Linked DNA regions of Homo sapiens: region 1 is linked to region 2. The links are contacts of gene promoters, found by promoter capture Hi-C in human tissues and cell types (Jung and others, 2019). All regions are on one chromosome and are shown on one strand. The core of a region is centred on a gene start or on the middle of the fragment in contact, and the rest is flanking DNA. Distances in the headings are between cores, read along the strand shown.

The links. Contacts are between HindIII fragments. The study calls those that stand out against the background at their distance.
Region 1: a contact is called between a fragment that was not itself captured here and the fragment with the promoter of IRAK3 in region 2, in 1 of the 25 tissues and cell types used here (lymphoblastoid cells).

What each region holds. Positions count from the first base shown.
Region 1 is chr12:66,618,514-66,624,207 of GRCh38, forward strand. The region is part of intron 1 of GRIP1 (glutamate receptor interacting protein 1); the gene reads right to left. Among named protein-coding and RNA genes, the nearest start is that of GRIP1, 58 kb to the right of the region's middle. The HindIII fragment of the contact is 3,841 bases long and covers 408-4,248 here.
Region 2 is chr12:66,185,363-66,190,733 of GRCh38, forward strand. IRAK3 (interleukin 1 receptor associated kinase 3) reads left to right here and starts at 3,852. Exons shown (of 12, transcript NM_007199.3): 1 at 3,852-4,070. The coding sequence starts at 3,938. RefSeq lists silencers at 3,957-4,006, 4,027-4,186. The HindIII fragment of the contact is 8,386 bases long and covers 247-5,371 here.

The DNA.
Region 1 (5,694 bases), core at 1,078-3,577, 430 kb after region 2:
TGAATCTATCTATTAAAAAAAAGTAAAAATAAAGCATGATTGATTAGGATGTCATAATTTCTGAATTTTCCAAAAACATATTGCATATATATTACTGAATATACTTAAAATATCTTTTGCAACTTTCTTTGCCAACAAAGTCTAGTAAATATAAAAAGATTAACATTGAAAGACATTTTATTAATACATGTGCATAATGAAATGTTTATTTATCAATATCCACTAATGCATGTTGTGAATGAACTTTCCTTCACTTCATACTTGTAAAACAATTAGGAATTAAAGCTTATTGGATGGAGACTGCTGAAAAAAGGCAAGCACCATCATCATCTATAGTAAAAACAAAAAATGAGATGTTCAGTAGCTATCACGTCATCTTGGTAGGATAAATAAAGAATATATTTATTTATCGTAGGTTTTGAATACTGAGAAATTCGAACTCGTATTATTCTGTTTCAAAAAAGGATGTTCAGGCAGATATGAACCGAAGCAAATACTCAGATAAAAGTGTAAACAACGTTTCCTTCAAGCTTTGTTGTTGTTGTTACAGTTGTTTGAGGTCTTCTTTGTGCAATTAAAAATGAAAGAAAGAACCCAAGGAATGAAGATCAAGATAAGACAAAATAAGATAAACTAGAACATATACATTAAAGTCAAAGTAAACCCTGTGAATAGAGAAATAGTTTGGGATCCATAGGGTGAGCAGCAAGCAGCACTAAAATATGAGTGCTATTTCTCTTTTAAAACAGAGTACAAAGCCTATAAAAGGTACTTTTGGATGGGCACATTATGTTCATAATTCATAATTTTAAAATGACCCATGAGAACCAGGTACTAGACCATAGGGCCTAATGAGTATTCTAGAGTAGAAAAAATGAACATAAGGAAAGAGAGCCATTACGGGTAGATTTCCTTGCCCTCCACAAATCAACCACACTTAGGGACTATTTTCTTTCCTCTTAGTGGCACCTTTGACAAAAATAGCAGCCCACAAAATTTGCACTAAAGGCCCACTTCAAAAATTAGAGCAGTAAGGTTCCAGTGTTGCCATGTGCCAGAAGTAAAAGAAAAAAGGGCCATACATGAACATGGAAATAAAATCAATGAGGGTTACACAATGGCCAATTTATTAAACTTTTTAATTTTTATCTGCTTTGTGCAAGAAAACCAAAAGGAGGAAATAAAAAGATTTGAGGGCAATTATGAAGCAAAAACCTTCTAAAAGTGGTTGCAAAAAACAGATGACTAGATATTATCCATCTAATTTTATTGTCCAGTGAAAGAGCAACATCCAAAGGAAATTCTGCATGTACAGAGGGTTAAAAAGGGTAAGATTTTAAAATACCAGTTACTATTATATTGTTTTTAATTGTTAAAGGGGAAGTAAAAGTAATTGATCCTTTGGGGTTGAACTTACTGCCTCTTAAAAACCTCTAGTAGCAACAACTCTTCTTTAGAAAACATTTCATAATTTCAGTGAGACTTTACATCCATTACTTCATTTGATGAGTCGCTATCATCCATATAATACAGATAATATATGGAGATCAAAGCTCAGAGGCATTAAGCTACCTGCTCAAGTTTACATAGGTAGAAAGTAGTGGAGCAGAGATTCAAACTCAGTTCATGACTTCACAAATTGTGTGCTCCACACATCCTGAAGAATATGAATATGTGCAAGTAACGGTACCCTGGCAGTCTTAGATTAAAATGAGTCATTCAATTCCTCTCAAGAGTGACTAGCTAGGGCCTAAAGGTATTTTGATGATTTCTGCCAATGATCTGCTGAGGGAGCTCTCAAAATTAGGTTCAATGTTAGTTATGAAGACACATGGATGCAATGCCACCATCCAGGACCTTTGATTCCCTGTACCCAAAAGGACAATATAATTTTCAGCCATGAGTGGAGCAATGAATTGATTTTCCTTTGATTCACATTCCTGAGTAGGCTGCTTTAGAACCATGGGAAAGCTTCCACTCTCACCTTCTGGACATTCTACTTCATTATCAGGCTGATGTTAACAATAAGAGATGTTCAAAGAACAATAAACATGGCTAAGAAGCTGGTGGGATTGATTTTACACTCCAGGTAATAGCTCTCTGAGGATACTGTGCCTTTACAAAGCTGCTGATCAGTGCATTCTTTCTCTTTCTTTTTCTTTTTTTTCTTTTTCTTTATTTCTCCTTCCTGCCTTCCTTCCTTCCTTTTCTCCCTCTCGCTCTCTTTCTCTTCTTATGACACTCTTCCCACCCCTCACCCCCCCAACCCCTCCCCCCCAGACTTTTAATGGCCAGGGGAGGAGGGGGAAGAGTGGTGCATAAGCTGCTTCTTCCTCATCATAAATTAAGGGTTGGTTGTAGAAATTCTTTTGAAGACTGGAGGCTGCAGCATGATGATTCACTTTTCCTGCCCAAACTTCCCTAATTCACTCAGGTTTAGACTCTTCCAAATCCCAGAGGCAAAAGATAATGAATAAATTAAGTTTTCAGAAATTACTGTATTTAGAAAAGTTTTAACATATTTTTGGAAAAGCATTTTATAAATTGCAAAGCAGAGCGATTTCATTTACATTTTTTATATTATGGTAAAATAGACATAACACAAATTGTTCATTTTAACAATTTTTAAGTATACAGTTCAACAACATTAAGTACATTCACAGTGTTGTGCACCCATCACCCCTATTATCTTCAGAACTTTTTTTTATCATCCCAAACTGAAACTTTGTACTAATTAAACAATAACTTCCCATTGTCCCCCCACAGTTCCTGGTAACCTCTATTCTACTTTCTGTCTCTATGAATTTGCCTATTCTAGGCAACTCACATAGGGCAGTGACATAATGTGTGTCCTTTTGTATCTGGCCTTTTCACTTAGCATAATGTCTTCCAAGTGTATCCACATTTCAAGATGTATCAAACTGCATTACCTTTTATTGCTGAATAATATTCCCTTGTATGTATACATTTTGTTTATTCATCTGTTGATGGACATTTGGCTCGTGTCCACCTTTTGGCTATTGTGAATAATGCTGCTCTGAACAGTGAGGTACAAGTATCTGTTTGAGTCCCTGCTTTCAATTCTTTGGGGTATATATGTAGGCGTGGAATTGTGGATCATATGTTAATTCTATGTTTAAGTTTTTGAGGAATCCCCAAACTGTTTTCCACAGCAGCTACACTATTTTATATTCCCTCTAGTAATGCAAAAGGGTTACAGTTTCTCCACATTCCTGCTAATACTTGCTATTTTCTGTTTTTTAATAGCCATCCTAATGGATATAAAGTGCTATCTTACTATGGTTTTGATTTGCATCTCCCTAATGTCTAGTATTGCTGAGTATCTTTTCTTGTGCTTATGGCCCATTTGTGTATCTTCTTTCGACAAAGGTCTTTTCCAGTCCTTTGCCCATCTTTGAGTTAGGTTGTTTGTTTTTGCTTTTGCTGTTGAGTTGTAAAATTCTTTATATATTTTGGATATTCTTTGTCAGATATATGATCTGCAAATATTTTCTCCCATTCCATGGGTTGCCTTTTCATTCTGTCAATAATGTACTTTGATGTACAAAAGGTTTTAATTTGGAGAAGTCCAGTTTATCCTTTTTTTTCTTCTGGTGGCTGTGCTTTTGGTGTCATATCCAAGAAATCACTGTACTGATTCCACTTTGATTAACCTATAATACAATTAATTTCTAAGCAGAACCCTTGAGTTATGCTACAAGTCACTTTTGCCCCAAATAAATTCCAAACAAATACAATGTGATGGAGGAGGGAGAGGAAGTGGGGATGGGTAATGGGTACAAAAATATAGATAGAATGAATAAGATCTAATAAGATCTAGTATTTGATAGCACAACAGGGTGGCTACAGTCAACAATAATTTATTGTGCATTTAAAAATAAGGAAATATATTTGGATTGTTTGCAACACAAAAAAAGATAATTGAGATGCTGGATACCCCATTTACCCTAATGTAATTATTATACATGATATACCTGTATTAAAACATCTCATATACCCCATGAATACATACTATGTACCCATTAAAACCAAAAAATATATATACAATGTGAGAGGCTAAAGAGCAAGCATGCCAGGCAACTGAATACTGTTTCCAATTGATCTTAAGGTCCAGACAACATGGCACATGGTTTTCTCTGTTACCTGGTCCCTGCCTACTTTTTTAGTTTCATTTCCCCCTTGCCATCTAACTTCAATGATCTGGAATTCTCTGTCTCTAAAATACTCTTCATTTTCCCTATACCTGCCTTACTCATACTCATCCTTCTAGTCTCAACCCAGTCATCCCCTCTTTCGGGATGTTTCACATGATCTGTTCCTATTTCCACCTACTATTCATGCAGTGAAAGGGTTGATGTGCTAGTTTGAGCTCCTGCGGCACCCCATATGTTGTTTACTACAAGATTTACTATACAGAATTACTGTTTACTTAGCTGTCTCCCCCTCTATATTATGAATTCCATGAGGACATTGAGCATGATTTTAGTTTATTTTTATTACTATATCCTCAGTATCTAGAATACTTCCTGATGAACAGTAGATGCTCAGTAGGTAACTGCCGAATGAATGAATGAATGAACCAGACTAATAGCCTTGCCAAAAGTTTTCTGTTTCTAGAAGTAGTTACAAGAAATATTTTCATGGAGAGGCATAACATTTAGAGATATAGCCTAAGTCTCTCTGCTTTTCTTAATAATTTATCTTCAATGAACTTTATTTCATAAATCTTTAATCAAAGTAGTGTCATAAGCACTTTATAAGTATTAATTCATTTAAACTTCACAATAACTTGATAAGGCATTCTTATCTGCAGTATTCAGGAAATGAAACAGAAGCACAGAGACGTTAAGTAGCTTGCCCATTGTCACATAGCTGCTAACTGGGATTGGGCCTACTTAAAGTTGATCAGTCTGTATCATCTCTTGGTATGATGAGTTCCAACTAAATGGGAAACAATATATACTTGAACATTTCAGTCTTACAAGGATGGTCAAGTTCATGGAATTTATAATTTTTCTAAACTTGGCTCACATCACCCTCAGATTTATGGTCTAGTTTTCCTCCTGGAAGCCCCAAGTTTCCTAACTGGGGCTCACATACCAGTCATCCCTTCCCTCTTTCTGTTTCTTCTCAGAACCTGAGTCACTTCCTCATTTCTTCTGTAGGCTCAGCTGCTGGAAGCACTGGGCATTTCAAGTGCAAGTGGACCATATTTATTTTCAGGATTAAAGACATTTCCTATTTGGTTTTTGATGTCTCTTTGGTTTCAATTTGATCAATGTACTCAAACAACTACTTAAAATGACCATAGGACATTTTAGCTGGTCGTAGCTCCACATAACATTTTATAGGAATATATGAATTTTTTCTTTTAAATTTATTATCTTTTGGTTTCCTTCAATAAAACCAATCTTCAGCTACACTATTATTATTATTGCAGGGAAGCATTTTTTGAAACACAGCTCCTTTATAATTAATTCATTCATTTGTTCATATATTTATTCAGTAATTTCAGGGTGCAACGCACTGTGCTAGATGATGGAAATACAATTTTATCCTCTAGGAGTCAGTATCTTTCCCACCTAAACAGATTTCTACAATAAGATAGAAGTTAAACATTCCTCTGATTTTGAATATTTAAAAACCTTGTAAGAAAATGCATTATTTCAATTG
Region 2 (5,371 bases), core at 2,602-5,101:
AAGTATAATAATAATAAAATTTAAAAAAATTTTGGTTTAAGTTGAAAGAAACAACATCATATTTGTATGCTGATGGAATTGAGGTGGTAAAGAGTGAAAAACTGATCATGTAACAGGGACCAGGGAAAGCATGTGCCCTTGATGCCTTTGAAATGGTAATAGGGATAGGATCCAGTGCACAAACGAAGTATAATGATTTACATAGGACCCTAGATAATTCATCCATGGAAAACACGAAGAAAGAGTATGTTGGCAAAGATGCTAGTAGATAGTTCGATGTAGTAGTGAGATTCCGTGGAAGTTTTTTCCTGATGCATCAGTATTCTCAATAAATATTCTCAAGATAATTGGTGGAGGACAGGATGATGGGAGTTGAGAAAAAAGAAAGTATAGCATAGCTTTCAAGGAGACCAGAAGAATGCATGGGCTAAAGGTGCATAGTATGCTTGTCCAGTGGCATAAAGGACCCACTTGAGAGTCTTGGCCTTGATTTTAAATTGAGTTCAATTAACAGGATTTTGGTTTTCCACCCCGTTCCCCAGCTACACTCAGGTGCATGGGTGTGGAGCCAACTTAGAAAATTGGATTTAATCAGAATTGCAAACTTGCCAAGAGAGCTCAACAAAGTGAGAGAGGAGCAAGGGAATGTAGAGCATATGCAAAGGAGTGAATAAAATAATTGACCACAGACTTAATGGATAAGCAGAAAAGTCAGGATGTCAAGAGGGTGGAGCCAGAAAAGAGGCAGCAAGATTTTGGATTGGATATCTGGTGAAGGGACAGGATTGTTGGGGTCAGAGTACTAGAGGGAATGTGCTAGAAAGACAGGAGGTATGATCAGAGAGTGGATTCATGAAAGAAATTATAGATGGGATGCAGCTATTGATAATGACAAATTCTAGGGGACGCTCATGGGAGTAAGTGTCTGAAATGGAGCATTGGGTGGAGTACAATGTCACCAGAGAAGAGGAGTCAAGGAAATGAGAGGCCAGGGCATTGGAAAGATCACCATCTATTCTACATATATATATATATATATGTGTGTGTGTGTGTGTGTGTGTGTGTATGTTTTAATTTTGTTTCATCAACTTTTATTTTAAGTTCTAGGGTACATGTGCAGGATGTGCAGTTTGTTACATAGGTAAATATGTGCCATTGTGGTTTGCTGCACAGATGATCCCACCACCTAGGTATTAAGCCCAGCATCTATTAGCTATTGCTTCTGATTCACTGCCTCCCCCTACCCCCTCCCCTGACAGGCCCCAGTATGCATTGTTCCCCACCAAGTGTCCATGTGTTCTCATGGTTCAGCTCCCACTTATAAGTGAGAACATGCAGTATTTGATTTTCTGTTCCTGTGTTAGTTTGCTGAGGATAATGGCCTCCAGCTCTATCCCTATCCCTGCAAAGGACATGATCTCATTCCTTTTTATGGCTGCATAGTATTCCATGGTGTATACATACCACGTTTTCTTTATCCAGTCTATCATTGATGGGCATTTGGCTTGATTCCATGTCTTTGCTATTGTGAATAGTTATTCTACATATATTTTAAATCACTGAGAACTAAGATAGGATTAGTACTGGAGAGAGCAACAATGAGCCAGGAGCTAGAGAGTCTAAAAACGAGGAGAAGGAATTGGAGTCGGGGAGATCAGCAGTTGATAGCAACCATGATGATACAACCTGATGATATAAAAATCAAAACTCAAGACAGTTTTAGGAATAGGAAGGCAACATGGTCTGAGAACGACTGCCAACACTGAAAATACAGGAAATTTCACATACTCTAGCTTTCACTTAGGATCCTTGCTTCTTGGTAAATTACAAGATCTGGTAAAGCAGGCCTTTCTGATTGCTTCCCTCATCTGCAGTGATTTCCTGTTTCCTCTGAGTGAGTTTGCCTCCCTGTAGTAGCAATTCAAAAGCTACCAAATAATTAATGGCCTTTTGCCTCTGTTGCTCAGCATGTTCAGGTAGTCCCTTTAAGAGATGTATAGAGGGCCGGGTGTGGTGGCTCATGCCTGTAATCCCAGAACCTTGGGAGGCCTAGGGAGGTGGATCACTTGAGCCCAGGAGTTTGAGACCAGATTGAGCAACATGGGAAAACCCCGTCTCTACAAAAACTACAAAGGTTAGCCAGGCATGGTGGCATGCACCTGTAGTCCCAGCTGTACTGGAGGCTGAGGTGGGAGGATGGCTTGAGCCCAGGGGGTGGAAGTTGCAGTGAGCCGAGATCGCACCATTGCACCCCAACCTGGGCAATCAGAGCGACTAAAAAAAACAAATAAGAAAGAAAGGAGGGAAGGAAGGAAGAAAGGAGGGAAGGAAGGAAGGAAGGAAGGAAGGTAGGTAGGTGTACAGTGTGTACAGATTGACAATAAAACCTTGAACAACGGGATATCGAAATTCTTGCCCACACAGTATGGGCTTTGCCAGTTTTCAGATACATTTTTATGAAGTATTTTCGCTGGCAAAACCATTCAGGTAGGGGCATGAAATGATAGTGTTTCATCACTCGTGATCTCTAGGGGCAGCTATTCCAAAGACTACAATCTGAGAGGTTTCAAAACACCTCTGGTGTTTTCACTTGATGGCCACTGCCCACTCTTCCAGTCACTAAGGCTGAGATTTTTCTCACCACTTTCAAAACAACTTTTTGTCACTGGTAACATGCCTCATGTGACCTAGAAGATTTTGAAACAACAATTTTACTTAAACTCCGTGAAGATTTCAAAACAACAATTTTACTTAAACTCCATGTTGAAGGCAAAAAGGAAGATTGTGTGAAGCACTTTGAGGAAGGAAAAAATGATGGAACGATATTTCATCAAGGAAGCCCATGAGGAAGAAAATTTATTAAAACCAAGTAGGTGTATGGAGGAGAGGCCGCCTCGTGAAGAAAACGAACATAATTTTACGCTGATTTGGTGTCTTTTCTGTTTTTCTCTTGTTGGTATCTACATTCATCTTTTCCAATAATAATCCCATATATGTACATTTTTATCTGTTTAAATTCAGTAAAAGTTGGGAGGAAAATGTGTCAAAACTTTTAGAGTGTGATGGGCTGAGTGGGGTTGTGAGTGATTATCTTCTTTTTTCAGTTTTTTTCTGGGTTTTCCAAGTGTTCCTCGATGAACATGGATAGTTTTTCTGACAGGATAAAAAAGAAGTAGTCCGGGACAGTGGCTAACACCCCGAATCCCAGCACTTTGGGAAGCCGGAGGTGGGAGGATCGCTTGAGGCCAGGAGTTTGAAACCAGCCTGGGCAGCATAACGACACTCCCTCTCTACGAAAAACGAAAAAAAATAATTAGCCGGACGTGGTGGCGTGCGACTGTGGTCCCAGCTACTCGGGAGGCTGAGGTGGGAGGATCGCTTGAGCCCAATAGGTGGAGGCTCCGTGAGCTGAGATAGCGCCACTGCGCTCCTGCCTGGGCGACAGAGTGAGAACCTGACTCAAAACAAAGAAAAAAGGAAGAAAAGAAAGGAAGGGAAGAAGGAAGGAAGGGAGAAGCTTTCAAAAATAAACTTTTGTAAGAAGTAATGACACCGCTAGCCGTCCACACCAGGAGACCGCCTAGCCGTGGGGCACGGTGGGCTCCTGGGAGCTCTGAGCTCTGGGCTTTCTCCAGTTCGCACTCTGCTTGTCTCGGCAGCTCCGTCCCCACCGCAGAGGTGTGAAGGGGCGCAAAGCCAGCGAAGGGAGAACCCGGGTCGGGTAACCCCCAGGCCTGGCCAGGCGGACGCAGGGGCATCTCGGGCGAGGCGCGCCTTGCGTCACGTGGGCACCGCCCCTGCAGTGACCGGAGAACGGCGTGTTCCTAGGGCTCTGCTGCCGTCGTGGAAGCAGGATTTCCGCGGTTGTGTAACGGCCTGTCGCAGGCGTGCAGGGACCTGGACTCCGCCTCGTCCCCGGGGCTCGGGCAGCCGAGCCATGGCGGGGAACTGTGGGGCCCGCGGCGCGCTGTCGGCGCACACGCTGCTGTTCGACCTGCCGCCCGCGCTGCTCGGAGAGCTCTGCGCTGTTCTGGACAGCTGCGACGGCGCGCTGGGCTGGCGCGGCCTGGGTGAGTCGGCGGGGACCGGCCGGGGGCGGCGGGGGAGCCCAGCGCGCCGCGGGGCCCGCTCGGCGTCGCCCTGCATGGCTGGGGTCCCTCGCGGGGCTGGCGCGGCCTCCGGGAAGTTCCCGCCAGGGAGCCGGCCCCCTCCTTTCCTGGGTTGGATGCAGAGACTCCCTGGGACCCAGATGCCTTCCCTCCCTTCTCTTTCAAAGAATTTTGGGTATCGCTGCAAAGTCAAGGGAGCCGAGGCCTGGGAAAGACAGATAACCAGCGTGAAAGCATCTTCTGTTCGTCCGCGATGCCACCCTCACTGGGTTCGCAATGTATGATGTCTTCTGGTCCTTGCAAAATCACCCCAGAACATCATTTTAGTATTGAGACATTTTTAGAACTTTGAGATACTTATCCTTTGGTGTTTTCAATGCATCCCTAAGCCCCTAACTTAATTACAAGTGAAATGCTAAAGTAAACTACGGTTTGCAATGAACGCGGCTCCTAATTTTCTTAATTAAATCTTATTTACCCAATTTCGTTGAATGAAGGTTTATGCTAAAGGGTGGCTTTTTATTTTAATCTAAAAAAATTGGCTTCAGAACTGTATTTTATGCAGACATTGGAAAGTTGAGCAACTGCCTGCTGGAAGTGTTGAGTGTAGCCAGAGATAATTCGGACAAAAATCTTCGTTTTGTTAAGTACAGGCATTTTTGGTTAGATTTGATATTCCACAATGTCATGTTTAATGTTTATTGAAAAGAATCATGATTATGTCAAAATAACTTAGCTTTAATGGTCTGAAATAGGATTTTTCTTACCAGGACTAGCAGAAGGCCTAAGAGGAGAGTTTTCTTTGTTACTGATGAACAGTATGGTGACAGTCTTTGAATTGTAGCAATGGGCTTCTGGTTATACAAAAAATGTTTATATATTTTAAGCTCTGTAATTTTAAGTTATGGCCCTTAAGAAAAAAAAAAAAGTCTGATTTCTAGAAAACGAGATTTCCAGTGTGCATTTGAGGGATTTTGAGGGATAAGGTCACTTCCCCATCAGATCTTTTTGAGATGGATTTTGGCGTGGACAGTATTTATACCCGTTGATTTCCTAGAGTTACTGACTTTGAGAAAGAAAAGTGTTTTTAGTCCAGTTTAATGTTGGTGAATGGGGCCAGGTGGGTGTGGTAAATTAGTGAGGCAGATTATTCTCTCTCTTTCTGTTGATAGCATTGAAATCCAGATATTCATGCTTTACATGGCTTGTCTCATATAACTTCTCCAATTACTCTGTGAGTCATTATCATCGCCAGTGTTTTT